2 separate regions of the Homo sapiens genome follow, and region 2 is linked to region 1. The links are contacts of gene promoters, found by promoter capture Hi-C in blood cells and fetal thymus (Javierre and others, 2016). All regions are on one chromosome and are shown on one strand. Each heading gives the region's core, a stretch centred on a gene start or on the middle of the fragment in contact. The rest is flanking DNA. Distances are from core to core; before and after follow the strand shown.

Evidence for each region. Contacts are between HindIII fragments. The CHiCAGO score rates a contact against its expected background, and 5 or more counts as called.
Region 2: a fragment that was not itself captured here is called in contact with the fragment with the promoter of SQOR in region 1 in 1 of 17 cell types (M0 macrophages); the score reaches 6.1 in M0 macrophages.

The regions. Positions count from the first base shown.
Region 1 is chr15:45,633,779-45,639,840 of GRCh38, reverse strand. SQOR (sulfide quinone oxidoreductase) reads right to left here and starts at 4,812. Exons shown (of 10, transcript NM_021199.4): 1 at 4,733-4,812. RefSeq lists enhancers at 2,042-2,101, 2,132-2,211, 4,041-4,090, 4,121-4,210, 4,673-5,668 and a silencer at 4,691-4,860. The HindIII fragment of the contact is 3,121 bases long and covers 2,420-5,540 here.
Region 2 is chr15:49,054,121-49,060,426 of GRCh38, reverse strand. No RefSeq gene overlaps it. Among named protein-coding and RNA genes, the nearest start is that of SECISBP2L, 11 kb to the right of the region's middle. The HindIII fragment of the contact is 663 bases long and covers 4,295-4,957 here.

The DNA of each region.
Region 1 (6,062 bases), core at 3,563-6,062:
CCTTGAAAGGCTCATGATTTTCCTCCAAACTCAGATGGCCCCTCATCCATCTCAAGCATCATTTATGTGCTCACAGAAACACAAAACCACATTTACTAGACCCAGCACTGTCTTGAAGAGCTCTCACAATCTATACTCCAAACATGGTGGTTGTTAAAACACATCATTTTCCTATGGAGACATCATGGGCTACCTTAGAACAAATAGCCAAAGATATAAGAAAGTTATCATAGAGTGAAATCACCACAATCCCCACTTCCAGAAGCAGCCCTCCCTCCCAGAAGTCAGGAATTGGTACCAGGATACAGACATAGCCATTTTCTCTCCATTCATGTAGCTAGGGCCAGAGCTGCTGGTTCCCAGCTAGGTGGCATGAAAGTTCCCTGAGGGCTGGGCTAGGGCCAAAACATGGAGATTCATTATGATCAGAAGGGAGTCACCCCATGGTATTTAAGGATGATCATAACATCATCACCCATCACCCACCATACATTTACAAAGTACTTACTATGTACATGGCACAACAGCTAACCTAGGTCACTTGCTGAAGAGGCCAAGTTTTTCTTTTCCTAACAGTCAAAATCATGAAGCTGAATATGGCTTTAACAACTTCAGGCAAGATCCTAGGGACCACACAGGGTGTCTGTAGAAGGAAAGTACATGGGAGACTCTTCTGCATAGGTTGGGTAAGAGATCCTAAGAGCAAGTGATGGACATGTCGGGATCATGACTTAAAAGAGATGGTGCCTAGTTGTAGCCATTTTTTTTAAACCTATTGTCCATTTGGTAGAACCAGTTGTATTAATTTTCTAGGGCTGCCATAACAAAACACTATAGACTAGATGAAGTCTAGAGAACAGAAATTTATTTTCTCAAAGTTCTGGAGATTGAAAGTCCAAGACCTCAGTGCTGATGAGACTGGTTTCTCCTGGGATCTCTCTCCCTGGTTTGCAGATGGCCACCTTCTCAGTGTGCCTTTGCGTGGCCTTTTCTCTGTGCACATGTGCTCCTGACGAGTCATCTTCTTATAAGGATACTATTCATATTGGATTAGGGCTCCACCTTAATGACCTAACTTAATTTTCCTTTTTTTTTTTTCTTTCTTTCTTTTTTTGAGACAGAGTCTTGCTCTGTTGCGCAGGCTAGAATGCAGTGGCATGATAATCTTGGCTCAATGCAACTTCCTCCTCTCCGGTTCAAGCAAGTCTCATGCCTCAGCCCCCTGAGTAGTTGGAATTACAGGTGCACACTACCCCACCCAGCTAATATTTTGAATTTTTAGTAGAGACGGGGTTCCTCTATGTTGGCCAGGCTGGCCTCAAACTCCCAGCCTCAAGCGATCTGCTTACCTCGGCCTCCCAAAGTGCTGGGATTACAGGCGTGAGCCACCGTGCCTGGCTAATTATTCTTTTATTGAGACAAGGTCTTGCTATGTTGCTCAGGCTAGCCTCGAACTTCTGAGCTCAAGCAGTTCTCCCACCTCAGCCTCCCAAGTAGCTGGGGCTACAGGTGCTCACCACCACTTCTAACTAAGGCACTATCTCCTAATACAGTCACATTCTAAGATCCTGGGGGCTAGGGTTTCAATATATGAATTTGGTGAGTCCATAACACCAGTATTTGCCCTTCCCAAAGTTACAGACATAGATAGTCCCAGTGTGTTCTAAATTTCCGAGGGTTTTTTTGTTCTGTTTTGTTTTTTTCCACAAAGTTCTCTACCTCCTGTCCCAATTTAGCACTTTCTCAATGTAAATCACAGGGATGGTTGGCTAGATCTACTTTTCTTTATTATTATTACCACCTACATCTGGGGATTACAAAGATTTTTAAGGCTGGGATTAAGAAGCAACTAGTTGGCTTCCAGCCAGGTCTGGGCAGCTTTCCATAAGCTATCCAAACTGCTCCTATTTACCAAGTCTTCAGAGTCAAAGAGGAGTTATATAGTAGATAGTGGAGCAGGGAAACGTGAAAGGAGAAGAAAAAAGTACATCTATGCCCAGAAATGCCTTGTCATGGGTCCGTCTCCATTCTTTATAAGACATTTCCTGTGTTACAACACATCGGATTAACAAAGCTAGACACAGGCAACATGGAGGAGAAACTGTTCTGCAAAGGAATCCGGTTTCCTTTCAACATTCAGTTTCATTTTCACTGGCAGAACACCAGCCACACAGACACGCACACACAGACCCTGGGCCCTGACTGACATTTCAAACACCCCCGTTCCAAATGTGTTTATATATTTTTCCAGCCAGAAAAAAAGCCCCAAATTTAAACAAAGTCATTTCCCAAACCACCAGCTGTCTCCTTAATGAATTTTGTTTTTTGGACTTAGTCACAAGCAACCCTTTCTGACCCACTTATTCATTCAATAAATAATGAGTACCTCCCCAGGCTTGGGGATATAAGGCCATAAGCTTGGGAGGGATACAAATAAGTTCTGATAAATGGTATCTACTTCAGCCCTCTACACTAAGTGCAGTGCTGGGTGCCTTAAATACTTGGGAAGGTGTTATTATCTCCACTGTACAATGAAGAAGCTGAGGCGAAAAGAAATTCAAAAGCCAAAGTTAAGCTGGGTGTGGTGGTTGCTTTGGGAAGCAGACAAGGGCAGATCACTTGAGGTCAGCAGTTCAAGACCAGCCTAGCCAATATGGTGAAACCCTGTCTCTACCAAAAAATACAAAAATTAGCCAGGTGTGGTGGTGGGTGGCTGGTGTAATCCCAGCTACTAGGGATGCTGAGGCAGGCGAATCACTCGAACCTGCGAGGAGGTTGCAGTGAGCAGAGATCACCTCACTGTACTCCAGCTTAGGCGACACAGCAAGACCATGTCTCAAAAAAAAAAAAAAGCCAAGGTTACAATGGGCCTTGGAAATGTCAATGGAAGTGTCAAGCCCAGAAGCCAAGTCATTGGGTCAGTGCCCTTTCTACTATCAGAGGATCTTAACCTGGACCCAAAAACTTAGATGGAAAAGTATTTTACATCTTTATTTTTACGGATATTTAATATTTACATCTTTTATTTCTCTAGTATCTAACTGAAATTTAACATTTACTTCAATTATGTATGTAGCCAACAAACCACAGCAGTATTGGCAATACTAAGACTTTGTCACCAATAGAAATCACAGATATTGGCCGTGCGCAGTGGCTCATGCCTGTAATCCCAGAACTTTGGGAGTCCAAGGTGGGCGTATCACAAGGTCAAGAGATCGAGACCATCCTGGACAATATGGTGAAATCCTGTCTCTACTAAAAATACAAAAATTAGCTGGGTGTGGTGGCACACACCTGTAGTCCCATCTACTCGGGAGGCTGAGGCAGGAGAATCACTTGAACCCAGCAGGCGGAGGTTGCATTGAACCGAGATCGCGCCACTGCACTCCAGCCTGGTGACAGAGTGAGACTCCGTCTCAAAAAAAAAAAAAAAAGAAGAAAGAAATTACAGATATTTTCTTATATTACAAGTATTACCTATATCTTGAAATAATTGTTTATGTTCTTTACTACTTCAAAATTATGGTAACTATTTAATCCACTGCTAGATCTTGTTATTTAATAACCTTGTTATTAAATAACGCATTCGTTTTTTAAAGACATATATATTACCATATCATAAATTCTTTTAATGTTTTGACATGTGTTTTGCAATTGGTTTCCTTTATAATACTCTTCCTTTTGTTTTATACCTTTAAAAAAGCATTGTTCTGGTCCAGCGCGGTGGCTCACTCGTGTAATCCCAGCACTTTGGAAGGCCGAAGTGTGCGGATCATTTGAGGCCAGGAGTTCGAGACCAGCTGGGCAACATGGTGAAACCCGCCTCTACTACAAATACTAAAATTAGCCAGGTGTGCTGCGCCTGTAATCCCAGTTACTCGGCAGGCTGAGGCAGGAGAATCGCTTGAACCCGGGAGGTGGAGGTGGCAGTGAGCCGAGATCGCGCCACTGCACTCCAGCTTGGGCGACAGAGCAAGACTCTGTCTCAAAAAAAAGTATTGTTCTGAGAGTCTTTAGCCTTCCCAGAAATGCCAAAGGGGTGCACAGCACAAAAATGGAACAGAGCCCTGCATTATAGCAATGGGCAGCGCAGGCAAAGCCAGGGGCTCTGTTCAGCGTCTTTGAGCAAAAAGCCAGGTTGGAATTTTGATAAATAAAAGAGACAGATGAAGAGGAAAGGAAATGAGCCCAGATTCCACCAGAAGACCCCTTCTCCCTTTCCACCAATTCCTGTTCAGCAGGTGCCCTAAATCCTCTCCCCTTCAGGTTTCAGCTGCAGCCGACCCCTCGAGCGCCCCCTCTGTCCCACGCGCAGTGTCGGTGGATGACTGTGTCAATCCCTGGCCCCCGGACGCCGAGCACCCACTCCCGCTCCAGGACGGTGCCGAGTGACAGTCAACAGGTGGAAGGCGCCAGAAACGTCCACACACCAAGACCACGGATACTTCGGTTTTTAAGCACCCCTCGCGGGTTGGCCTCTCCGCGGCCCTGAGGCTCTGACACTCTGAGAAGGAAGCAAGAGTCCCAAGACCCGGGTTCCAGACAAGGGCAGCAAGAGCTGCAGGTGTCCGGAGTTGAGGAAGCAAAGTTTGGGGCGCGGCGCACCGGGTCTGCGGAGTCCCAGCTGCGGAAACCGAGTTAAGCTAACAAACAGCCTCAGTGGTGGTCGCTGTCCCCGCCCAGTCTCCCTCCGCTGGCCCAGGGCCAAAGATCGGCCGCGGATGCCTCTTACCCGGGCGTGAGCGGAGCCTTCGGTCACTGCGTTGGCGCAGCAAAAACCTTCGCTCCCTTCTGGGTCTCAAGGCCTGGACTGGGGCCCCGCCCGCCTGCCATCCGGGCGGAGGCTGGAGGCGGGGAAAGCGAGGCTCCCCCCAGGAAAGGTCCCGAAAAGTCCCGCCGTGCCCCGCCCGGCGCCGCAGCCCAGGCACCATGGTCAGTGAACACACCAGGGCGTTGAGCGCTCACGGGGCACAGAACCAGGAACAAGCGTCCATCCGGCCTGGGGTGCTGCCGGCTGGACAGACTCGCCCCTTGCGCGCCCTGAAGGGCGGCCCCGCAGGCTGGGGCGCACAGGCGGAGGACACCGAGGCCACCTGACGCTTCCGCCCCTGGGTGCCAACAGCGTTTTGTAATCAGGGCAGGCAAAAGCGGAGGCGGGGCGCTGTGCAGAGAGGCTCTGGCTGTTCCCACTGGGTCCTCCTATGTGCCCTGGGCTTCTCACCGGGTTCACACAGCTGCCCAGAAACACAGGTATTCCCGCGCTCATTTCACAGAGAAGGTGACCGAGGTTCAGCTTTGGTGTGCGCTGGAGCCCTTCCTTCAAAACGCGCAGGCAGGGGTAAGCTGGCTTCCAGCCACTGGCCTCCACAGTGTCCCATCCCATATTCATGACTGGACATTTTCAGTTGGCGGCTCTTTCCAGGTTGATGTAAAGTCTCAGTGAGTGGTTCTCCACCATATCAGATTCAGTAACCCTTTTTACAATAAATACAGGGTGTCCCAAAAGTCTCATAACCTGAGAAGTGCAAGTGCTAGAAGCTTTCAAAAAAACAAACAAAAATAAACCCTTGAAAGTTTGAGTTTCTTTTACACTTATTTGGTTTTATGAATTTTGAATATATATATATATATATATATATATAGTTGTTGTTGTTGTTTTTTGAAACAGAGTCTCACTGTGTTGCCCAGGCTGGAGCGCAGTGAGTAGAGCAATCTCGGCTCACTGCAACATCTGCCTCATGGGTTCAACCAATTCTGGTGTCTCAGCCTCCTGAGTAGCTGGGACTACAGGTGTGTGCCACCATGCCCGGCTAATTTTTGTATGTTTCAGTAGAGATGAGGTTTCACCATGTTGGCCAAGCTGGTCTCAAACTCCTGGCCTCAAGCGATCTGCCCTCCTGGGCCTCCCAAAGTGCTGGGATTACAGGCGTGAGCCACCATGCCCAGCCTTGAATATTATTTTTTTAAATGTTTTCAACTGATACTTTCTATCTTTAATCAAAGAGACTGACTGTATCTATGGCAAAATCATCATGAACAATACAATACAAACGCAGACTGTA
Region 2 (6,306 bases), core at 3,377-5,876, 3.4 Mb before region 1:
TGGAATAGTTCATGAAAATAATATGATAGGCCAGACACAGTGGCTCATACCTCTAATCCCAGCACTTTGAGGGGCCGAGGCTGGTGGATCACTTGAGCTCAGGAGTTTGAGACCGCCTGGGCAACATTACAAAACCCTGTCTTTACCAAAATACAAAATTTAGCCCAGTGTGGTGGCATGAGCCTGTAGTTCCAGCTACTGGGAAGCTGAGGCAGGAGAATCCATCGGGCCTAGGAGGTTGCAGTGAGCCAATCTTGGCTCACAGTCTTGAGCTAAGATTGTGCCACTGCACTCCAGCCTGGGTGACAGAATGAGACATTGTCTCAAAAATAAAAAAGAAAACCATCTTAAGGACATCATAATAAATCTGGGAAGTTATTTCCTGTTTTTAGTTGGAATGGTCTGAAGACCTCACTGCCATAAAAATGAATGTCATGTCCAATTTTTATCTAGTTCTCCAAGTCCATTTATGCATTTATTCATTCTTTTTCAACTCACTCTTACCTAAACTAGATTGTTTACAAGACAGCTAATTATGTAGTTGATCTTACCATCCAAAAATCATTTTTTGATGTTATCGTCTTCTGTTTTCATTTTACTTACCTGCGTCTAATATTCTCAAAGGAGCTAGGGAGTTTTCCGTTTAAATCCACCATTTAATTACCTGTCTTCCTTTTTCTGGTAAACATCTGACTCAGCTCTAAAGGCAAGCTCATTTGTTCATTCAAAAAACACTGTTGAGTAATTTCTCAAGGAGTTTATGCTCTTAGAAAGGAAATAATTACATAAATAATTATACACAGTACACAAATAATTTCAGGCAGGATATGGCACAACAAGCTAGAGGAATTTTGAGGAGGATCTGTTTCATCCAGGAAATGGAGGAAATGATTTTCAATACAAAAAAGACACACTAAGTAGAAAAAAAATGTGTGAACAAAGTCAGGGAGGTGGGAAAGCACAGAATACATTTGGGATAGGCAGTGAGCCATCAATGAAGTTTGTAGATTGAATAAGGTGCATGCTCAGAGCTTCCATTTGGAATAGCAATAATAAATGTGCTCTGAGGGCTTGCTATGTGCTAGGCAGTGTTCCAAGCACTGGAAACATCGAGCAGTGGGCACAACAAACAAAATCCCTGCCTTCATGGAGCTTATATTTGAGATAAAAATGACAGTCAATAAACAAAACAGACATACAGCATTTTAGATGATGATAAGTGCTACGGAGAAAAAGCTGGAAAGGAGAGGCAGTGTGTGTGTTTGCATGCTGTTTTTTTTTTCTTTTTTTCTTTTTTAAAAATTTCAATAGCTTTGAGGGGTACAAGTGGTTTTTGGTTACGTGGATGAATTATACAGTGGTGAAGCCTGAGATTTTAGTGCACGCATCACCCAAGTAGTGTACATTATACCCAATATGTAGTTTTTTAAATCCCTCACCCCCTCTTCTACCTTCCTCCTTCTGAGTCTCCATAGTCCATTAGATCGCTCTGTATTGCATCCTGCTTTAAAGAAGGTGGTCAGAAAAGGCCTCACTCCAAGGTCACATTTAAGAAAAGGCCTGAAGTGAGGGCTTGAGCCATGTGGGTTAACTGGGGGTAGGGAGTTCCTGCCAGTGGAAGCAGCAAGGCCAAGGGATCTCAAGATGAGAGTGTGCTTAGAATGACAAGGGAACAGCAAGGAGTGAGCAAGTGAATAGCAAGTGAGTGAGGAATAGGAATTAAGGCCAGAGGCATGGTAGGGGCTTGATCATAGGGACTTCAATGGCCCCTCTAAGGACTTGGGCTTTTACTCTGAGATGGGAAGCTCCACTGGAGCTCCTTGGAAGAGAGGAGTGACATGATCTGACTTAAAATTTTATGGCTGACTATGGCTGATTGGGAGATTATCTGCTCCAGAGATTCTGACTTAATCGGTCTAAGAGGGGACTGAATATTCTAGCTTTAAGAGTGCCACAGATTGAGAACCACTCCTCTAGGGCTTGCAATGTGTTCTTGCATTCGTTACCTCAACTCGAACCCCTCAACAATCCCATGCATTGTGCAGATGAGGAAACTGAGGCCCAGGGAAGCTTAAGCGACTTTTGAGGGCACATGGCCTGAAATGGGTATAGATAAAATTTAAACCCAAGTTATCAAGTCTTAGTCTAGTAGTGCTCTTTCCATCATAACACTTATATTATCAATGGAATCTTTTTTCTTATGAGTTTGCCACTAGTTTTTAGGAATTTTGGTGGATTCATCTTATATGCTGAAAACATAAAGATATTATCTCTAGTAATTTTGATTCATACTATCTTTACTCAGGTTTGATTCCATGGTCTGTTCTGTCACCCTAACCACCCTCTTGCCATTAGATCATGTTACTTTCCTGCAAATAATGAGAGATACATACTCCAGTTCAGCTGTGCCCTGGCCTCAGCATTGGCCAAAATTTGCTTTTCAATTTCACCTTTAGCATTGGCCTTTGGAAGGTCATATTGTCAAATTTCTATTTCACCTTCTGGCAAGTCTAAACTGGGTATGGCCTCCCCATCATGTGATCTTACTGGGTAACCATTATATCTAATCAGCATAACTATGTAAATTATAAGAGCAAAGTATGTTAGTCAGAGTTAGTGTTAATATATGGATATGCACTTTCAAATATAGGTAAGCATTTTGGATGTATTTCCTCTGTTGAAATTCTATTAATTGTTTAATATAAACTTCAGTAATAAAGGTAATTGTGAAAATTGTTAATTTTATGCAAAAATGTAGAACTTTCAAGTAGTTAGGTAAGAAAATAATTGAAAATTAATACAATTATACAAAAGATGGGCTACATAAATTTAGAAAGAAAATTACATCCTTTTGAACCACTAATATTCATACAATGTAATTAATAATAAAAGGCATGCAGAAATAAACGCATATTAGAAATTAAAATTTTAAATGAGAATAACAATCTTAGGTGTGCATCTGAAAATATCCACAAAGCATCTTCTTCAAGCACAGCACAAACTTCAGTTTCTAGGGGGCTTCAATGAAATGGAATCATGTCCATTGACCAAATCTTCAAGTCCAGCAGCAGAAAAGCGGATAAAACTTAGTTTCTATTAGAAAGGAAGGGAAGCTTAATAACAGATGATGACATCACTATCAGAAGTATCCTATACTAGCAGAGCTAGCCAAAAATAATCTTGTTCCTCATCTGACTTTGGTTAATAGTGGACTTTAATATTTAAAATTGCAATGTGCAGTATCATGACTGTAGGAACACTAGTAATGCTAAGAAATTGTTCCTGCATTATTTAAGCTTCTGAAGTTTGACTACTGCCAAATAAGAAATGATGTTTAACCTTCTCATGTTATATTTTTAAGGATATGTTATTAATATATGTTCTAAAATTGTATGAGACTCCTAAAATTCTGATATGTCTTGGTATATGTTATCAGTCATAGTTATAGTTAGTATGTTTAATTATTGTAGGTCACAGAAATAACCAAATTTCCTTGTCAATTGTGTCTTTAACCGTGACCATTTTAAGTCTTGCTTCCAGTTAATTGCTTAATTCTGGTGCATTTTCTGAAAGCTATTTATAAGCAACTAAAATCCTAGAGTATTGTGCCTTCAAGGAGGCTCATGGAAAGGATGGAAAGGACCCTGAGAAGCACTCTTGAATACACGGTTCTGATAACTTTAGGATCATATAATTTGGACTGGGTAGGAATTCCTAGAACTCTCATGAAGAGACTGACTGATTCATAAAACTGCTAAACCAAGCAGGACAAGAATTGATTGAATATCAAGAAAAAATTTTGCCAAATGTTATGCAAAATGAGCCAGTACTGAAATTGTTAAGAAATTCAACTTAAATGAACTCCATGGCCCAAGGCAAATTACCTATGATAACAGATTTAACAAACAGTGCTGTGCAACAAAATCGCTATTTAAGAATGATAAAAATCCAATGTTAAGTGTGGACTCATGGAGAGCCTGGATGGCTGCCTGGCCCTTCCTGAGTCCTTATAGCTTCCATTATTAAAAGCTGTATACCCTATGACTTATTAGGAAAGAGGTAAAATGATTTAAATTATGTGTGTGTGTGTGTGTGTGTGTGTGTGTGTGTGTGTGGTGACTATTCTAAACTGCTAAAATGGCTTATGATCAATGTTTAGTTTGTCAAATCCATAATTAAGGGAAAATATCAAAATTTGGGGTACATTTCTGCTACATGATGAGCCTTTTGAACATTTATGAGGGCATTTCATTCACTTGCCATTCTACGCACATTTTCTGATTGTATAGAAGCTTTCCCATGCAAGAAGGCCAATGCTATAACAGTAGCTAAAAGGTTATTTTAAAATGTGTTTCCCTCATGGGGAATTCTGAAGAAATCTCCAGTGATGGAGGTACTTGTTTCACTGGACAGGTTGTAGAAAAGTTAAATAAAGTATTATAGCATTAGGCAAAGCTAAATGAATCGACTGGATTGCCTTGATCCAAAGTATTGAAGATTGATGGCAATCAGATCCACTTCCAGAGGAAAACATAAGTTGACCCCTTATGAAACAGTCACTGGAAGGCCTATCCTCCTAATAATAGAACATTATATCTCTTCCATTCCTGTACTCTGATATGACTAATTGCCGCAAGGCTTTAATGCATTATGCCAAAGTGTATTTTAGTCAGGCAAAGGAAATTTTAATGACCCATTGACTCAGGATAATTAAAACATTGATGATATAGAACCAAGATATTGGGTCTTCTGGAAGTGAAGAGAAAGACTGCCCTTGCCACACACACTGCAGCAAAACTTTGGGACCGCAAACCTTGTATCCATAGTCTCATAACTCTAAACAGCCCTTTCAGACTCAGGACTGTATACCAGGGTCCCCCTAACAGGTACTTGTCCATGGGCTGTTAGGAACCAGGCTGTACAGCAGGAGGTGAGCAGTGGGCAAGCAAGTGAAGCTTCATCTGTATTTACAGCTGCTCCCCATCTCTGGCATTACCACTTGAGCTCCACCTCCTGTCAGATCAGCAGCAGCATTAGATTCTCATAGGAGCGTGAACCCTATTGTGAACTGTGCACACAAGGGATCTAGGTTGCACGCTCCTTATGAGAATCTAATGCCTGATGATCTGTTACTGTCTCCCATCATCCCCAGATGGAACTGTCTAGTTCAATGGTCCCCAACCTTTTGGGCATCAGGGACTCGTTTCATGGAAGACAATTTTTCCATGGATGGGGAGGAGAGGAAGGGGCAGATGGTTTTGAGATGAAACTGTTCCACCTCAGATCACCAGGCATTAGATTGTCATAAGGAGCGTACAACCTAGATCCCTCCCGTGGGCAGTTCACAATAAGGTTCGCTCTGCTATGAGAATCTAATGCTGTTACTAATCTGAGCTTGCATGTCTGCTGCTCACCTCCTGCTGTGCAGCCTGGTTCCTAACAGACCACAGACTGTACCTGTCCACAGCCTGGGGTTGGGGACCCCTGGTTTAGTTGCAGGAAAACAAGCTCAAGGCTCCCACTGATTCTATGTTATGGTGAGTTGTGTAATTATTTCATTATATATTACAATGTAATAATAACAGAAATAAAGTACACAATAAATGTAATGCACTTGAATTATCCCAAAATCATCCCCCACCCCCAGGTTCATGGAAAAATTGTCTTCCACAAAACCAGTCCCTGGTGCCAAAAAGGTTGGGGACTGCTACTGTATACCTATTGGAGACCTTAAGGTAAAGTTAACTGGGAATTTTCTCCCTGGAAGCAGACAGAATCCTAGACATGAACAAGTTTCTCAAGATCATGGATCAAGGACCTGCCATCCTGTGACGCTTACATCTTCTTGCTTATGCCTCTATGAACAATAGAACTGGAAAAGGTGCTTTGGGTGTACCCATAGGGTATACTTTTATGTGTGGAGGATTTTACAGCTAACCCTATACAGGGGAAACCTTATGCTTTAATGCAGTGGTCCCCAACCTTTTTGGCACCAGGGACTGGTTTTGTGGAAGACAATTTTTCCATGGACTGGGGGTGTTGGGTGGTAGTGGTGATGGTTTTGGAATGAAACTGCTCCACCCCAGATTATTGGGCATTCAGTTCTCATAAGGAGTGTGCAACCTAGATCCTTCGCATGCACAGTTCACAGTGCAGTTCTCATTCCTGTGAGAATCTAATGCTGCCACTGACCTGATAGGAGGCGGAGCTCAGGCAGTAATGCCTGCTCACCCACTGCTCACTTCCTGCTGTGCGACCCAGTTTCTAACAGGCCCCTAGCTGGTACAAGTTCATGGTCCGGGGATT